Regions from separate parts of the Homo sapiens genome. Here all the other regions are linked to region 3. Evidence: promoter capture Hi-C in human tissues and cell types (Jung and others, 2019). All regions are on one chromosome and are shown on one strand. The core of a region is centred on a gene start or on the middle of the fragment in contact, and the rest is flanking DNA. Distances in the headings are between cores, read along the strand shown.

What was found. The method cuts DNA at HindIII sites, captures the fragments that hold promoters and counts their contacts. A contact is called where the count stands out against the background at its distance.
Region 1: the fragment with the promoter of TMPRSS6 here is called in contact with the fragment with the promoter of NCF4 in region 3 in 2 of the 25 tissues and cell types used here (lymphoblastoid cells and thymus).
Region 2: a fragment that was not itself captured here is called in contact with the fragment with the promoter of NCF4 in region 3 in 4 of the 25 tissues and cell types used here (adrenal gland, liver, mesenchymal stem cells and 1 more).

Annotation. Positions count from the first base shown.
Region 1 is chr22:37,107,986-37,111,660 of GRCh38, reverse strand. It overlaps TMPRSS6 (transmembrane serine protease 6), which reads left to right and starts at 1,948. Exons shown (of 18, transcript NM_001374504.1): 1 at 1,948-2,158. RefSeq lists an enhancer at 3,217-3,675. The HindIII fragment of the contact is 35,568 bases long and covers 1-3,675 here.
Region 2 is chr22:36,722,807-36,726,938 of GRCh38, reverse strand. CACNG2-DT (CACNG2 divergent transcript) reads right to left here. Exons shown (of 4, transcript NR_134623.1): 2 at 3,592-3,711. Among named protein-coding and RNA genes, the nearest start is that of CACNG2-DT, 21 kb to the right of the region's middle. RefSeq lists an enhancer at 503-1,003. The HindIII fragment of the contact is 3,983 bases long and covers 743-4,132 here.
Region 3 is chr22:36,858,336-36,862,255 of GRCh38, reverse strand. It overlaps NCF4 (neutrophil cytosolic factor 4), which reads right to left and starts at 1,250. Exons shown (of 10, transcript NM_000631.5): 1 at 1,053-1,250. The coding sequence starts at 1,084. All of the region lies in intron 1 of NCF4-AS1 (NCF4 antisense RNA 1), which reads left to right. The HindIII fragment of the contact is 13,239 bases long and covers 1-3,920 here.

The DNA of each region.
Region 1 (3,675 bases), core at 699-3,198, 250 kb before region 3:
TGTCCCATCCCAGCCAATCCATAAGCATCTCACACTTCACACCCGCTGCACACTCCACTCACACGCCTCACACTCCACACATGCCTCACGCTCCACACACACCTCACACTCCACACACGTCTCACACTACACACACGCTTCACACTCCACACATGCTTCACACTACATACACCTTACACTACACACACACCTCACACTATGCACACACCTCACACTAAACACATGCCTCATATTCCACACATACTGTGAGCATGCACACACACACACACACAGCTGCACACACCTCTCATGCTCCATACACACCTCACACCATACGTACCTCAAAGACACACACACCTTACACTGCACATTCCCAGCACCCACACTGCACACACATGCACAGTCCATATGCCCACACAACACACTTCACACACCCCCCACCCCACACCATACAAACCTCACAGACACACCTCTCACACAAATCTTATACCCCACACACAATCCCTACGCTCCACACACACACACACACACACACACGCACATTCTACACATACATAATCTACACACACAAATTCCAGACTGTCTCTCTTACACACACACTCTGGGACCCATATGCCCACAGCACACAGCATCTCAGGCGTGCACCCCGCATTCTGGCCTCAGGATGTAGACTCGCTGAAAGTCAGCCTTGTCTGAGACAGACGCCCGCTGCCCTGCACGCACCCTAGAAAGCCCTGGCTCCCATCCGGCACTTCGGCACGCATATGGCTCAAACCCATCTCCACAGCAACGCTGTTCCATAGAACAACAACGCAGGTCACACTTGTGACTTAACCTGTCTAATATCCACATGCAACAAGGGGTGTGGTGGCCCGCGCCTGTAATCCCAGCTACTTGGGAGGCTGAAGCAGGAGGATCATGTGGGCCCAGGAGCTCCAGACCAGCCTGGCAACCTAATGAGACCCTGTCTCTGAAAAAAAAAAAAACAAGAGAGCCAGAAGAAAATTGCTTTTAATAATACATTTTATTTATCCCATGATCACCAGTGTTATTTCAACATAAAATCAATATAAAAATTGTTATCGCGTTGGTTGACATCCTGTTTGCACTTGGCCTTGGAAACCTGGTGTGCGTCTCCCCCGTGCAGCTTTTCTCAGTTCAGACTGACTCAAGAGCCACGGGTGACCAGCGGCTACCGTCATGGACAGCACAGCGCTACGGAACCAGGTAGGAATTCATGCTGCGTGCGGTCGCTCATGCCTGTAATCCTAGCGTTTTGGGAGGTCGAGGTGGGTGGAATCACTTGAGGTCAGGAGTTCGAGACCAGCCTGGCTAACATGGTGAAACCCCATCTCTTCTAAAATTATGAAAATTAGCCGGGCATGGTGGTGGGCGCTGTAATCCCAGCTACCTGGGAGGCTGAGGCAGGAGAATTGCTTGAACCCGGGAGGCGGAGGTTGCAGTGAGCCGAAATCACACCACTGCACTCTAGCCTGGGTGACGGAGTGAGACTCCATCTTAAAAAAAAAAAAAAAAAAAAAAAAGAACGAGGTAGGAATTCAAATAATTCCCAGCTAAACAGAAAATAGCATCAAACCCCACCCCTGCCTCCCCTTTCTCCTCTCCAGTCCCCAGAGTATATGGGCCCAGCCTCCTTTTCTCTCTCTCAGGCCAGCAGCTCCTTTAGTCTCGCCTGTCCAGGTAAGCACCTGGACTCACCCTTGTGAGCCCCTGCACTCACCTGCACCGGCCTCTGCACAGTCCCCAGTCCTTGGCTGTCCCTACCTCATGCTCTCGGGGACCAGGGGCTGTAACCAGGCAGGCATGTCACCAGGCAACGGGCCTCGGGGGAGAGCTCAGATCTCCCGCACCTGCCTGCCAGCCTCTGGGGTGCCCATGCGGGGGTGGGGGAAGATGGGGCGGGGCAGGCACTGCCTTCTCCTACCTCCTGCCTGTTTACCTGTACTTAGTCACAGTGCTGTCCAGGACCCAGCAGGAGGAGTTCCATGGAGCCTGAGGCCACAGGCCACAGGGGACAAGGGCCAGACACCCTGGTCATGGCTCTAGGCCATTGATCCAGCCTGGGCTGGCTGGGTGGGGGTGGGGAGGCCTTGGCCTGGACAAACAGAGGCTCCTGAGGCCTGTGTGCAGGCCCGGCACCTATCTGCCGCTCCCAAAGGTAAGCGGGGGCCTCCAGGACAGGGGACCGGGATCTATAAATGACCTAGTGACAGTGTCCACCCTAAGAGCTGGGCCTGGCTCCCTGCAGCCTGAGCCACCTACCCTGCTCCGAGGCCAGGCCTGCAGGGCCTCATCGGCCAGAGGGTGATCAGTGAGCAGAAGGTGAGGGGCCCACAGAGCTGGGGAGGGGAGGGACCACGCAGGGTGACACCAGGTGTGTGGACAGGCACAGCATCAGTGCTGGGTGGTTGGTGGCCTGGGATTCAGGTGGCAGGGACAGGAGGAAGGGAGAGGCCACCCTACCCCTGCCTCGCAGGACTGGACATGCTGCCCCCTCCACACCCGGTACCCCACCTGGGCCTTCTGGTGTAGGAGACAGGCCCGGAGCCCCACATTGCACCTATGTACTGACTTAAGCCCAGGACCCTGGGCTCACAGGCTCAGAGTTGGCATGTATGTGTATGTGTGTTCGTGTGTGTGTCTGTGTAGGAAGGGCGTGCATCTATGAATTTTTGTGTCATGAATAGATGTGCGTATATCCCTCCGCGTGTCTCCATCTGTGTACATCTGTGGGTCTGTGAGTGTGTTTATATGTGTGGAAGGGACCCCCACCCAGTCCCCCACACTCTCAGGACTCTAGGGCCTAATGGTTTCACTGAAAGATGCCCCTATGGCCCTAGCCCAGAGTCCCTGCTCTGCTCTGCTCTGCCCTGGCTGAGGGACCTCGGGTAAGTCATGTTACCTCTCTCTACCTCAGTTTCCCCAGCCATTAAATAGAGTCAGCAAAGTAGGCACCCCAGGCTGTTGGAGGCTGCAGTGGAGTTTGCAGCACTGCCCAGCACAGGGCTGGCACATGGTAGGAGTTCATACGCAGTGGTTGAATCCGGATCTGCATTGCTGGGGGAGTCGCGGCCCCGCCCCAAGGAGCTCAGCCTCCAGCAGGCAGACCCGAGACCCTCCAATGGCCAGAAGGGCAGGAGGGAGTGAGGAGCAGGTGCCAGGGTGGGGTCCATGGTGCTCAGAGCTGGGGGACTGCTTCAGGCCCCTGTGGCAATTGGAGCACAGTCCCCGCTTCCAGGAGTTCAATGTGAGGGGCAAAGAGAGAGTGCCCACAGGTAAGCTGCACATCGCGAGGGGCAGCCGCCCCTTCTAGGGCACTCTGGGAGAGCTGCGAAGAGGTGAGGTCTGAACTGAGGTGACAGGGGCTGCATAAGAGCTGGCCAGGTTGGGAGGTGGGGGCCCAGGCAGAAGGAAGAGTGTGGGGACGCCTGGCCGTGAACAAGCACTGACAGGGCTCAAGGTCCACGAGGGCTCTTGGTGCCGGCTGGCTGCTCTTAATCCATAAATGTTTGCTACCATCCCATTGTTAAAATTTCTCACCAATGGAAGTCCAGTGTCCTTGGGGTGCGACGGGGAAAAGAGAGGGTGGGAAAAAAGGAGGCAGGAGAAGTTGGCCAGGCCACATATGCACACAGCACCTTGGACTTCTGTAGGGAGGAAGGAGCTGGGACCTTG
Region 2 (4,132 bases), core at 1,485-3,984, 140 kb after region 3:
GGTATAGTGGCGCATGCCTGTAGTCCTGGCTACTTGGGAGGCTGAGGTGGGAGGATCGCTTGAGCCTGGGAGGTTGAGGCTGCAGTGAGCTATGATCACACCATTGCACTCCAGCCTGGGTGACAGAGTGAGACCCTGTCTCAAAAGGAAAAAAGAATGTATCCGACCATTTTAAAACCAAAGCGGAGCACATGGTAATCACAGTCACCAGTATTTGTTTCCCTTAATTGCAACTCCTAAAATCAGGGATCCAAGGGACGTCAAAGACATACCCAGGGTGTTTGACCTCAAACTGGAAATCGTTGTGTTACCCTTTCCCTCTCTCTCTTGGGCCCAGTGGCTCATCTCGTGGGCCCAGCGGCTCATTCTAAATGTAATGTATGTGATTACCTCTAGAAACCTTGTCATGACTCCAGCTGACTACCCCAACACCAGAAATCAGACCCGAGGCTGTCGAAATGGCTCAATCACTCACTCAGGACCAGTGGAGGCAGCTGACAGATTTTAACCCCTCTTCTAAAGAGACAGTAGATTGTCTCCACTTTGGCCTACTAGAGAAGCTTCCAGGGGTTTTTATTTTGTGAGCATCTATTTTGTGCCCATCTTCTACCAGCTAACTTACTCTGCTTAGGAGACCCCTGAGGTAACACCCACCATCACCCTGCTTCCCAGGTGAGGGTGGCACGGTGGCTATTGCAGCAGCGCTGGGATTGGAGCCCAGGTCTGTCTGCCCCAAGCCCACTCCTTCGCCTCCCTGTCCCAGCTTCAGCCACCGCCGGCCACTGAGCTTGCCACCTGCATGACCTTCCCCTCTCCAGGAGAGACTTTGCTCGAAGGACGAGGGACGTGCCACCCAGGCATTTCCTCTGATGACCGCAGGATGAATTTTCCCCATTCACTCATTCTCCTGCCTGTGAATCAAAGCTTGTCTTTTTTTTTTTTTTTCTCTGCCTCCAGCCCTTGAGTTTCCAATTTCACCATTAGCTCATTGAACAGTGGCAGCATTCCCGAGCCTCGTTCAGGAAGACTTCATCTTCCGCAGGACACAGAGGGAGCACAAGAAGGTAGAGCCCGAGGGGACCGGAGCCGAGCCAGAATCGCACCACCGCCCGTGGGGCCGCCCAGAGGCAAAGCCTGGGGCCCGCATGGCTCCCCGGGCTCCCTGTGGCTCTCCGGGCCTCCGTGTGCTCTGTAAACCATGGGTCGGCATCCTAAGCCCAGCAGATGCTGCATGACATATAAACTGTAAAGCGCTAGAGGTACGTGAGGGGTAGGTATGGACTGGGCAGAGGAAGGGGCTTGTACACAGTGAAATGCCGCACCCATGCCAAACAACTTTGCAAATGCCAGGGAGTAATGTCGTGCCCTTCGCGATGCCCAGAGAATGCCCCAGCATGGAGATGAGCCAGGGGGCCCACGAGAGTGAGAGAAAGGGGTAACACAACCGTTCCCAGTTTGAGGCCAAAGACGTTGGGTGTGTCTTTGAGGTCCCTTGGATCCCTGATTTTAGGAGTTGCAATTAAAGGAAACAATACTGATGACTGTGACTACCATGTGCTCTGCTAAGTGCCCCAAATGCTTATCTTCTTCTATCCTATCCCTGCAACACTGCTGATGGAAATGCCAGCATCCCTTCCATTTCACAGACGAGCAAACTGAGGCCTGGGAGCAGGTGGCTTTCCCAAAGTCATATGACTTGGTGCATGGTGATCCTGGGACTCAGACCCCAAGGGAGCCTCCTTAACGTCTAGCTGGTGTGGGGGCAAGCACAGAGCATTGTGTCCCATCCAGGGAAGGGCCCAGGTAATGTGGCTTGTCTCCACCTCCCTTCACCACCACACCTGGCCAAGAGGGGCAGGCCCAAGCCCAGAAGAGCTGTCCCCACTGGACTGTGCCACAGGGTAGGGGGTGCCTGCCGGACACTTGCATCTGGAGGCAAGTGACCCTCAAATCATGCTCAGGCTAAACTGGAAGCAAAGGGGAGACTGCAGATCTCAAGACAATTGGAACATTGAAGAAATTAGGCCAGGCATGGTGGCTCACACCTGTAATTTCAGCACTTTGCGAGGCCGAGGCAGGAGGATCACTTGAGGCCAGGAGTTCGAGACCAACCTGGGCAGCATTAGCAAGACCCCCATCTCTACAAAAATAAAAATAAATTAGCCAGGTGTAGTGGTGCATGCCTGCAGTCCTAGCTACTTGGGAGGCTTAGGTGGGAGGATCACTTGAACCTGGGAAGTTGAGGCTGCAATGAGCTATGATCACACCATTGCACTCCAGCCTGGGTGACAGAGTGAGACCCTGTCTCAAAAGGAAAAAAGAATGTATTTGACCATTTTAAAACTAAAGCCAGTTAGTGTAAGGCATTGTCAGAAATAGTTATACTCCCATTCTTTTGATATCTGTGTGGTTTTATCCATTGATTGAATAATTGATTGAAACAAGATCTTGCTCTGTTGCCCAGGCTGGATTGCAGTGGTGCAATCATAGCTCACTACAGCCTCATATCCCTGGGCTCAAGGGATCCTCCTGCCTCAGCCTCTCAGGTAGCTGGGACTACATGCACACACTACCTCACCCAGCTAATTTTTTTTTTTTCATTTTTGTCTTGTAGAGATGGGGGTCTCACTTTGTTGCCTAAGCTGGCCTCCAACTCCTGGCTCAAGTGATCCTCCTGCCTCAGCCTCCCAAAGTGCTGGGATTGCAGGCATGAGCCACTGTGCCTGGCCTTTTTTGTGGTTTACTATCCCCACATGCTCTCCAAACCCAAGATGTCTTGAGGCCCATCTAGAGAGTCCGAAATCTCCCTGGACTGAAAGTCAGGAAGACCTGGGCTCTTATCTAAGATCTACTAACCCCTACTTGCTGTGTGCCCTTAGGTGAGTTCCGACTGTCTCTGGGCATCAGTTTTCTCATCTGTGAAATGAAGCAATAGACTCACCTGCCTTCTAAATGCCTCCCCACTCAGGCTTTCAGGGAGCCCAGTGGGTTGCATGTCGCAGGTCTGTGGTGCTGAGTGCAAGTCTATATTTTCTTTACAAATATTTATTAAGCACCTACTCTGTCAGCTCCTATAGATGCATAGCCTCAGATTATTAATTCAACCCCATGCAATAGAAATAGAAATGGAGGCATTCTGTCATTCAGAGAAGGAAGCGGAGGTTTCAGCAGGTGAAGTCACTCGCCCTTTGTCTCACAGCGGCATTCAAACACTGGCTCCTGGTCTGAGCCCATTCCATTTCATTCTGCCACCTCCCCACATAAGGAAAGCAGGAAATGGAGGGAAAGGCTGCTTCTCCCTCCACATGGCATCCTATGAGGTGCTACAATTGTTATTCCCATTTCACAGAGCAGGACACTGAAGCACATGCAGGTGCCCAGAGTCACACAGGATCTAAAGCCCCCTGCAGTCATGTAAGCTTAACCATGGGGTTGGCCAGGTGCAGTGGCTCATACCTGTAATCTCAGCACTTTGGGAGGCCGAGGCGGGCGGATCACGAGGTCAGGAGTTTGAAACCAGGCTGACCAACATGGTGAAACCCCGTCTCTACTAAAAGTACAAAAAAATTAGCCGGGCATGGTGGCACACACCTGTAATCCCAGCTACTCAGGAGGCTGAGAGTCAGGAGAATCGCTTGAATCCTGGAGATGGAGGTTGTAGTGAGCCGAGATCACACCACTGCACTCCAGCCTGGGCAACAGAGCAAGATTCTGTCAAAAAAAAAAGAAAGAAAGAAAGCTTAACCACGGGACTGCACTGCTGCCCCCACCTCAAAGCACTCAAAATAGGAGGGGAAGGAGACAGCAGGAAGCTCACAGGTGCCAACCAGTAATTAGGTATGAGACAGCGACACTGTGGAGGCCAAAAGGATCTGAAAAGGGGCTTTGATCCCAGACCAGGACAGCTGGAGGCTGCCTGCAGGGGCAGAGGCATGGAGGATGAACAGGATTCGCTAGGCAGGGGAGGAAGAAGACATCCCACAGAAAGAAACCAGAAAATAGCAGGCACAGAGCCCCTCATCCTGTGTGGGGGACAGTGTGCCACCCGGGTGAAGGATGCAAACTTGGGAAACCTTACTGCACTTCCTGAGGGAGGGGAGAGACCAGGAATGGGGCTGTGGGGACCAGCAAG
Region 3 (3,920 bases), core at 1-2,500:
TGTTCCCCGCGTAGGCACACACCAGCCTGGCCTGTCTCTGGTGACCCCCTGAGTGGCCTCCACGTAGGTAACAGAGGTCACCTGCTGTTCCAATCCAGGGGGTGCAGGGGCCAGGCTTTGCGTCCTCAGGGCCCCCGCAGCTTAGAGCTCAGACCTGGCTACTGAGGAAAAATTCTGAAAATGCTTCCCAAGCGACGAGGCTAGATGCTGGTGAGGCCGTGCTCCAAGCCCCAACCTTGCCAGTCACTCTCTGTGACCCTGAGTAAGTCTCTTATCCTCCCTGGGCCTCAGATTTCCAATCTGTACAATGGCAAGGTTGGACTAGAAGAATCTAAGACCTTTTCCGTCTCAAAGATCCACCCATTCATTCATTCATTTATTCATTCATTCAGCAACATTTATTGAGCCCTTGGTCCTGGTGCTCAATAGGGATGAGCTACCTCCTAGTGATACAGCAGCGATCAAAACGGACACAGCCTCGTGGAGCTTGCTTCTCATGGGGGAGCCAACGTTCAAGAAAAAATAATAAATGAGCATATAATATTATTCCTGTAATATAAGAACCAGGCAGAAAAGGGAAATAGGGCAAAGGGTCAGACAGCAATGAGGTAGGGGCTGTCAGGAAGGCTTCTTGGAGGAGGTGACATTTGAGGCAAGCCCTGATTAGCGGAAGAACAAGCCAGATTCTGTGAATTCTGTTTGCGCAGAAGATGGAAAGTCATTGCTGATCACCATGTGAAGCAAAGGGCCCCAGCCTGGGACCCAGGACACCTGCATTCCTCTCCAGACACTGCCGGTCACTCGTTGTGTGACCGTGGGCAAGTCACTCCCACTCTTGGAGCCTCAGTGTTCTCATTTGTGTCTGAGGGTGGTGAGCCACAGCTCAAAGTTTCGTTAAAGCAGTTCTGAGAGGTTGCATTTCTGAGTATTTGGGTTCTGACTCAACCCCAGCCTCTCATGTTGATCAGGGACTGCAGAAGGACTGGCCTTTGTCCCTAAGGCCTATGAGGAGCAGTGAGAAGGCCCGGGGGCGGCCACACCCCGGCACTCACCTCTCGGCCCGCAGCTGCTGGGCCACAGCCATGGTGGGCGATGGTCCCAGGGAGCAGGTGGAGAGTCTCGCCCAGCCAGTCCCAGGCTGAGTTCACCTCTCACTTCCTCCAGCCACCCTGCGTCTCGTCTCAGCCTGTGGTCCTGGGAGTCCCCAGGAGCTGCCTTTGGGGAGGCTCAGGCCTGCTTCTCTCCAGTCTGGCAGAGGCTCCTCCTCCAGGCTCTCTGGGCCTAGCCTGTGGCCCACACTTCCTCTTACCTCACCTCCCAGCTGCACAGAAATTGAGGAAGTGGACCCTCGGGTGCCAGGTTTGCAGGAATCCACTTCCTTGATGTCAGTCCTTGGCGCCAAGCCTCAGTTGGGTATCAGAAGCCTTGCTCCATCAGAGATGGGGTCCCAGCCATCAGGGTGTCTTGTGACCTTGAGGAGTCACTTATCCTCTGGCCCATCAAGCCCCACCTTTATTCTCTTACTGCCAAGCCTTTGCCCAAACTCTTCCCCAGGCCTAGAATGCTGGCCTCCATTTTCCTGTGATCTCTTAGGCCCAGAGTAAATGCCACCTCCTCCAGGAAGCCCTCCTGGTTCCTCTGGCCTCTGTCTTCCTAGAGTGTGAAGTTTGGTTTGCGCGCCCTGGCACTCTGGGATATCCTTTCCTCATCCTTAGATCTCCATGCCCAGCCAATCCTCTTTCACAGGGCTGCCAATCAGAGTGAGTTTCACCCTCCCTGCTTAAACTCTCCTGCCCCATCACCCTGTGCTCAGGATAAAGTCCAGAGTCCTTGCCCTGCCTGCCTCCAATGCCCCTGAGGCCCTGCAGCCTTCCCCAGCCTCTGCTCCTGAGCTCCCTTTTTCTCACTGGCCTCCTTTCCGTTTCTAGAATGTTCTAAGACGTCCGCCCCAAGGCCTATGCTCATGGTGTTCCCTCTGCTGGAAAAAGCTCTTCACTGCCTCCTTTGCATCTCAGCTTAGAAGCTACATCTTTAGCGAGGCCTTCCCTGACCACACACCCTAAATTAAGGCCCTCCCTACTACATTCTCTCACAGGTCCCTGCACGTCTACTGCAGAGCACTCATAACTATTGTCATCTCACATTTGTTTGTTTATCTGTATGTTTAATGACTGCCTCCTTGGCTAGCAGCGTGCCTGGCACATTGCAAGTGCTCAACCAATATTCAGTGAATGAATGAAACGCTGCCAGTCAGTGACTGCAGCTCCTAACAGGTATGGGTATTTGATTCTGAAGGGACTTCTCTGAGAAGAGGTCCACAGGAGTCATTGGCACAGCCACACCCAGTAACTCCCTGCCAGCTACACACGCTCACACACTCGTATTCATACATGCAGAGCAGAAAGTTGTTTTAAACTACTTTAAACATACAAGTCCCAGCTAAAAAAAACAAGAAAGCATAATTTTTAGGTAGGATCAAAGAGAGGGGTCAGGAATCTATACCAGGGGGAGAGGAACGTGGCCAACAGCCCATGGGAAAACCAAGATTGGATATGCATTGTTGGGCTGAGATTTTAATGCCAAATCTGGGACTAGGTACAGGCCACAGGTCCTGCTGTTAGCAGAAAGTCAAATCTGAGTTCTCAGTGTAAAGTGGGTGTCAGAACTGATTATGGGAACAGAGTTTCTCAGCCATCAGCCTAGAGTCACGGCAGGAGCTGAGGTCCTCTCACAGTCCATGGGTGGAACAAGGGACGTGTGTACCAGATCAGCCTCAAGCCTGCCCTCTGCACTGGTGTAAGGCCCCGATATAAGCTACCCACGTGGTGCAGAAATCCTAAGCTGAGGCATTATATAAAAACAGCTTGGAGTCAGTGACTCTGCAGGGCCTACTCTGTCAACTCACAGACCAAAACTACAAATCGTGAGCTGTGAAAGACAGCTCAGAGCCTCCACATCATGAAGAATTCACACCCAAAGAACTAGAAATAATACAAACAATAAGTCTGATGAGTTGCTGGTGTCTCGGGGCTCCCAGGCTAGAGGATGAAATGAAACACAGAGCAGGGTTATTAGTGCAGGTGTCTGTAAGTACCAACAGGTGCAAGCACACAGCCATAACTGAGGGAAGAGGAGGACATTGGCCTACAGTTGGTCAGGAAGGACAGGAAGTGGCAAAACAATTTTAGCAAGCAAGCATGATACAGAATTTGTAGGTGATTGTGTAAACTGTGTGTGTAGTATATGCCTATAGTTGGAAACACATATTTGTGTATAAACACATACAGCTCGCATAGGCAAGTGTAAGTGCATTTGTGTTGTGTCTATAAAAGACCATATAATGTGTATAGTGGTGGCATTGTGGCTGTGAGAGAATGTGTTTAGATGTTTAGGTTGCAGTCGGTGACAAATGAGTATAAACACAAGTACATTTATAATAGGTGAACTCAGGCAAGATAACATGTCCTTTTTGAACCTTTCTTCTTCACCAATCTGTGAAACAGTCTTGCCTAATGGAGTTGTAGTAGGAATTAATAGAAAACTGTATAAAAGTGCCTAGACACATGGACATTTCTTATTCCTTTTTTAATCGTTTTCAGTGTGTATATCTGTATGTGTGTGTTTCAGGTGGGTTAAGCCCTCAAGTTTACCTTCCCAGGTATTTTCATGGCTTGCCCTCCAAACCCCGGCCCCCCCAACCCCCCAAGAAACCTCCTGTGGCCCTGACTCAGCCACTGGGAAGCCACCTCTGCACCTGGGGGACAAAGATGTCCAGGGAAGAGCCCGCGACGGGCCAGCTCTTCCCCTCCTCCCCTCTTTCTCTCCTTTTCTTCTGTCCCTGCCCGTGGTTCTGCTGAATACAGGTATTTCTCTGTCTCCTCATACACAGAACGCTGCTGCCAATTTTATGCCCGAGCTCT